Regions from separate parts of the Homo sapiens genome. Here region 1 is linked to region 2. The links are contacts of gene promoters, found by promoter capture Hi-C in blood cells and fetal thymus (Javierre and others, 2016). All regions are on one chromosome and are shown on one strand. The core of a region is centred on a gene start or on the middle of the fragment in contact, and the rest is flanking DNA. Distances in the headings are between cores, read along the strand shown. Region 1 overlaps LOC107984486 (a long non-coding RNA gene). Region 2 holds the start of MANSC1 (MANSC domain containing 1).

The links. The method cuts DNA at HindIII sites, captures the fragments that hold promoters and counts their contacts. A CHiCAGO score of 5 or more calls a contact.
Region 1: a contact is called between a fragment that was not itself captured here and the fragment with the promoter of MANSC1 in region 2, in 1 of 17 cell types (neutrophils). The highest score is 5.9, in neutrophils.

Annotation. Positions count from the first base shown.
Region 1 is chr12:12,584,244-12,586,943 of GRCh38, forward strand. It overlaps LOC107984486 (a long non-coding RNA gene), which reads right to left. Exons shown (of 3, transcript XR_001749010.1): 1 at 2,058-2,700. Among named protein-coding and RNA genes, the nearest start is that of DUSP16, 23 kb to the left of the region's middle. RefSeq lists an enhancer at 814-1,315. The HindIII fragment of the contact is 2,329 bases long and covers 143-2,471 here.
Region 2 is chr12:12,348,876-12,351,575 of GRCh38, forward strand. MANSC1 (MANSC domain containing 1) reads right to left here and starts at 1,367. Exons shown (of 4, transcript NM_018050.4): 1 at 1,203-1,367. RefSeq lists a silencer at 1,368-1,677. The HindIII fragment of the contact is 5,175 bases long and covers 473-2,700 here.

The DNA of each region.
Region 1 (2,700 bases), core at 57-2,556, 240 kb after region 2:
GCAAGTGAGCTATGATCACTGCACACCAGTGTCGGTGACAGAGTGAGACACTGTCTCACACAAACAAACTTACCAAACATATATCAAGTGCTGATTACACTAGGTCTCTTGCTGCATAATTATAATAGTTTACACCTATTAAAGCTTACAATGTGCCTTGCACTGTGTTAAAGTGCTTTACATATATTATCTCATTTAATTGTCACGACAGACCTATGAGGTATATGTTACCTCATAGGTAATGTATCCATTTTACAGATGAAACTGATGAAACCCAGAGAGGCTAAGGAACTTGCTTCAGGTCACATAGTTACTGAGTGGGAAAGCCTAGTATTGAACCAAGTAAGTCAGCCCAAACACGGGTTCCGAGCACAATGCTAAACTGTCTCCACAGATATTACTACAATCTCATAAACTTCCCTATGACATAGGTATTATCACCCCAGTTTTGCAAATGGGGATTCAAGGTTTCGAGAGTCAGTGAATTGCCCAAGGTCATTCTGCTGAGTACGGGGCTAGGATTTGAAAGCAGATCCACTAACTCCAAGTCCATTAAACTTCCCATTACAATATAGCCACCTGGCAGAAATATTGTCTAGTATGAGATCAGATTAGAGGAAATTTTGACAGCAAAGAAGAGCAAGAAGTCTATATGAATAGGGAAGAACTTCAGGGTTTTGAATAGACATGATTTGATTAATGAAGGTAGTCTAGGTCTGGCCTCAGTCTTTCACAGGTAATTGAATCAGGGAAAGGGTAGACATGAACAGTAGATGATATTAGAGGAAGTAAGGACCTAGAAATGGGCATAGGAGAGAGGGAATGACAGAAACAAGATCAATATTTGAAGGAAAACCTGATTGTTCTAGGGGCTGAACAGCTGAGAGTGATGAAAGAGGAGATCAAATCAAAGAGGAATTTGCTTCTCTATATCTAAATAACTTCATGGACTATTGACAGGGACTGACAGTTTATATGAGCAGCTGATTTGTGGCAAAAAAAAAAAAAAAAAAAGAAGAAGGTTGTTTTTGGACATGTTGCAATCTGCTTGGCAGAACAATGACCTGCACATTCCAGAGGAAATGGCCAGTAGGCAGTCAGGGAAATGGGATTGGAGCTCAGGTAGAGAGCAGAAGCTGTCAATAGTATCTGACAAATAAGCTCTGCAAGGACCACTGAAGGGGCAGACAAGTCACATCCCAAGAAAAATAGGGTTTTTTTTTAATAATCAGAATGCGCCAGGAGTCAGCAGAGAACCAAAATGCACTATAATGAAAGAGATCAGGCCCAAGGGCAAGCCACAGGTCAAGATAAGTGGTTAGGGACAATGCAGAGATAAAAATTAAAGGGATGCAGCAGCAAATCTGATCTCATCAGTATCAAGGATAAATGACCACAGAATAATTTCCTGTCCTGTTTCTGGTATTTTGGGGTATTCCCCTATTGCAGGAGCCAAATCCACTTAACTGGATGACGCCCTCAGAATGACCCTGCAGAACAACCAGGAATCTTCCTAGCAGGGAGTACACAGTCTACATCAGCACAGGGAGAGAATGAAAGTTATCAAAAAGGGCCTCTCCACTGAATTGTACATGTAAAAATGGCTAAAATGGTAAATGACATTTATGTAGATTTTACCAAAATTTAAAAGGGAGTCTATCTCTTGAAAAGATAAACATCTACGGATTCCCCCAAAATCTCCAAAAGTTCACCTAATTACCATCTCCTGGACTTCCCCTGTTTGTTAAAGATCTTGATTTCCTTGCTTAAGTTGGTGGCTATGGTGCTAAAGGGATGAAGATACTTAAGAAACCATGGAGGCTGCAGCTACCTGGTGCCCTTGTCCCTTCCAGTCTGGGAAGGGAATGGGATAGTTGGTTGTGGTCAGTTTGCTGTGGAAACTCCTCTTCTGGCCTTTCTGCTCCCTCTGTCCTTTTTTCAGAACTTTGAGAACATGACACATTGGCCAATGCTCCACCCTCTGTGACCTCTTCTGCTTGACACAATTAAGAAAATGAGCCATAGAGCAACTCAGCCAACACCTGGAAGGGACTTACCTGAGACAGGAACCTGAGAGTCCTGTAACTTCAGTTCTTGCTCACTGCCCTGTGCATATGGCCTTAGAATCCTAGGATCCTCTTTCTGACTTTACAGAGATCACCTCCAAGCCTATATCGAATTCCTTTCCTGATCAATATATAATGTGTTCTTAGTTCAGGGGGCCTTCACAAACCAGGGCAACCCAAAGGTGCTCAGCTCCTACGCTCTTGGAAGTAGCAAGGTGGGGCTCCTCTTCATCTTGTAAGTAAGGAAACAGTGGCCCAGGATCAGTTCAATGGCTTGCCCACGGGCATATACCTGGCTAATTGCAGAAGGGGAAGGAGATGCAGGCCTTCTGATCCACTCTCCAAATCTCTGTTAGTTAGACAAAGAGATCCCAGCTGAAATATTTGGAATGCTATTTTTACTGAAGCTTTGCTTTCCCCCAGATTTAGTCTCTTTTACTGCCTTTTTCTCAAAACATATTTAAACTGCTTGGAAATGCCAATTAGGGGTCTAAAATAGAATGATAACTGCACCGATCAATTGGGGAAGCTCACTGGTTACCCACAAAACCATCACAGACCGCCTATTATGCTGTGGCTAAAACTCGGATCCATGCCTTCCCGCAGCCTCATATGGCAGAGCACCCCAGTCCCT
Region 2 (2,700 bases), core at 117-2,616:
GTCATTTAATCTTTACAGATCCCATTATTATCCTCATTTTAGTTAAAACTTACAAAAAGTTGTGGGACATAATATGTGCTTCTTTATTAACCTATTAAGTAACAAGTGGTCATCTAATAACTGCCATAATTTTGACGTGGTATTGAGTATAGATAATATTTTGAAACGTGCAACAAGTCATGTGATATAAAGATATCGGCAATATTTACAGGGGGCAAATCATAGCTACTGCTAATACTACTGTGGCTTTTGCCTACATTCCATTTCAGAAGTCGGTGAAATAATAATTTTTTCCACTCAAGTTCACAGACATCCTGAATTCTATCCATGGATACCTTATCGTGGACTCCCCAGGTTAATAATTCTGGCCAAGGTACTTAATACGCTGCCATATTTTGCAAGCCTCTAGGGAATCAAGAGAAAACCAGGCCAATACTTTATTTTGAATGGATTCTAATGTAGCCTCTTTTCAAGCTTTTGCAAAGAAACCTGAACTATGTAAGGAGATGGGGCAGGAGTTGTTTTCAGTATGCAGCATTGAGAGAAGTGTTTAAGAGTTTTATATCATTAAAGAGGCTCAGCAATATTAGGTTAGCGACGTTTTCTAATCCATTATTATTTAGGCTTTAAGGGCCTGAAGTCGAGTTGAATCTTGTTGAAAGACGGGGTAAAAGGATACAGGCGGGTGAGAGAGGATGCCCCTGAGTTTTAACGTCTGCATACAAGAGTCGCTAAAACTTACTCGCACGTAATTAGTTCAAATATTGGAAATCGTCTTACAGCACACTATAATTTACCAAGATGCTTATAACTGTATACACACACACACTCTACAGAGAATTAGACAATTAGCAGTTTCAATAATGAATACAGAGTCAACGACAAGAAAACAGGGAACATTTTCTCTTCCTTTGAGGAAATGCATGTTGCCTACTGAGCTATTCTTCTGCCTCTCCTTCTGATGTCAACGCAGAGCCAGAGCCATTTATGGCAGGTGCCTTGAGCCCGCCTAGAGGTCCCCTTTGGAATACTGCAGCGACTCAAGGATCCTGGTCAGCCCTTATTGGCCCCAGCTGGTCCTTTGGATGCTCGGGTGTGGGTGAAGGAGCCTCGGCCCCTGGAAAGGAGGGGACCGACTCTCTCCGCAGGTAGCGACGTCGCCTGCGGCCGGTCGGGGGTGGGTATTGGGGAGACCCCTTTACCTGGCGTCGAGAGGACCCCGGCGCCCCTGCTGCCATCCAGGTGCGAGGACAGCTCTGTCGCGCCCGCGGGAAGGACCGGCGAATCCGCGCGGGGGTCTCGGCGAGGACCGCAGCGGATGCTCCGCAGCTCCCGCACCGGCCTGGCGGGTTTTGTGGTTAGCAAGTTCCTGCTTCCGTCGCAGCGACGGCAAGTTTGCCGCGGGGGAAGGGCACGTTCCTGCCCTGCAACCCGGAGCTGCTTCCCGGCAACATTAGCGCGTCCCTCCCCGCGGAGGCTCCGGGCTCCCGGCCCCAGCGCTGAGCCCCGCAGGGAGGTGGCTCCCCCCACCGCCCCGCGCTCCCCCCCAGCTCAGCCACACCGCTGACCCCGGGCTGGGCGCGCTGCGAGGGGGAGTGCGTGCCTCCCTGCTGGTGGCCCGAGGGTCTGCAGGTGAGCCTTGCCTCGCGGCCCGCGCAAGTTAAAATAAATGCACATGGGGAAAATGTCAAACAGTACAAAAATAGACACAGAGACAAGTCTACCCCTCACCCCCGTGCCCCAGTCTCCTAGTCTCCCTCCTCAGAGGCAACCACTGAGAGCAGTTTTTTGATGTTCAAGGGCTTATAGTGCATCCTATTGGGGGCATAGTTCTGAGAATCCTCTTTCCATAATTGGAGGATGGAGTCCTCAATTAAAGATGGCAATTCTTGAGTTAAATATTATCTGCAAGACAAACTTCAGGGAAGGTATTTGGCTTTCTGCGGGATTTATTGTTTGTAGATAGGATAATAATGGTGAAAATGCTGGTGTCTGTAACATATATTAAAACTGTATCCCTAACACTTAGCATAGTGCCTGGTACACAATAGGTGCTCAGTAAATATTTAACTAAAATATTTTTGTTGACTGAATGAATGGAAAAGAACTGCATAGGGCATAGGTTGTGGAAGTTTCTAAATTACTGCTGGCCCCATCCCCACCTCCATAAACACACACACAAATGCAACGTTACTAAACCATTGACACTTAGTTTGCCATATGGTCTAACCTTTGACAGTATCTTCACCTCTGTTTTGAAAGAGCTTGCAGACCTGAAGCGCTATGCAATTGCAAGTTAAGTCTAGGCCTGTACGGCCAACAGCTACACACCCTAGTCTTAACCAATAACTACAGGAGGATTAGGTTGACTGAGAATGCTTGTGAACAAAGGTCCATTGTGTGAAACTAACTCTACTTGTAACCAAAGGATGACTCTTGAATTACAATGTTGCTAAAGCTAGGTTTGAAAGAGTTACCAAAGAAAAGTAAACACCAGAGTAATTTCCCATTGCAGTGATTTTCCTGATGCAACAAGGGACTGATCTGCAAGTGTGTTTTATCTTTTATCATCTGATACACTTCAGGGTTCAGGGTGTAGAGCTATCACAGTTTTTGAATCTCTCTACATGGGGTAATCCATGCTAGTTACAAAGTAGACCTTTCCATTATTAGAAACTTCGTATTCGGTGCTTTAATACA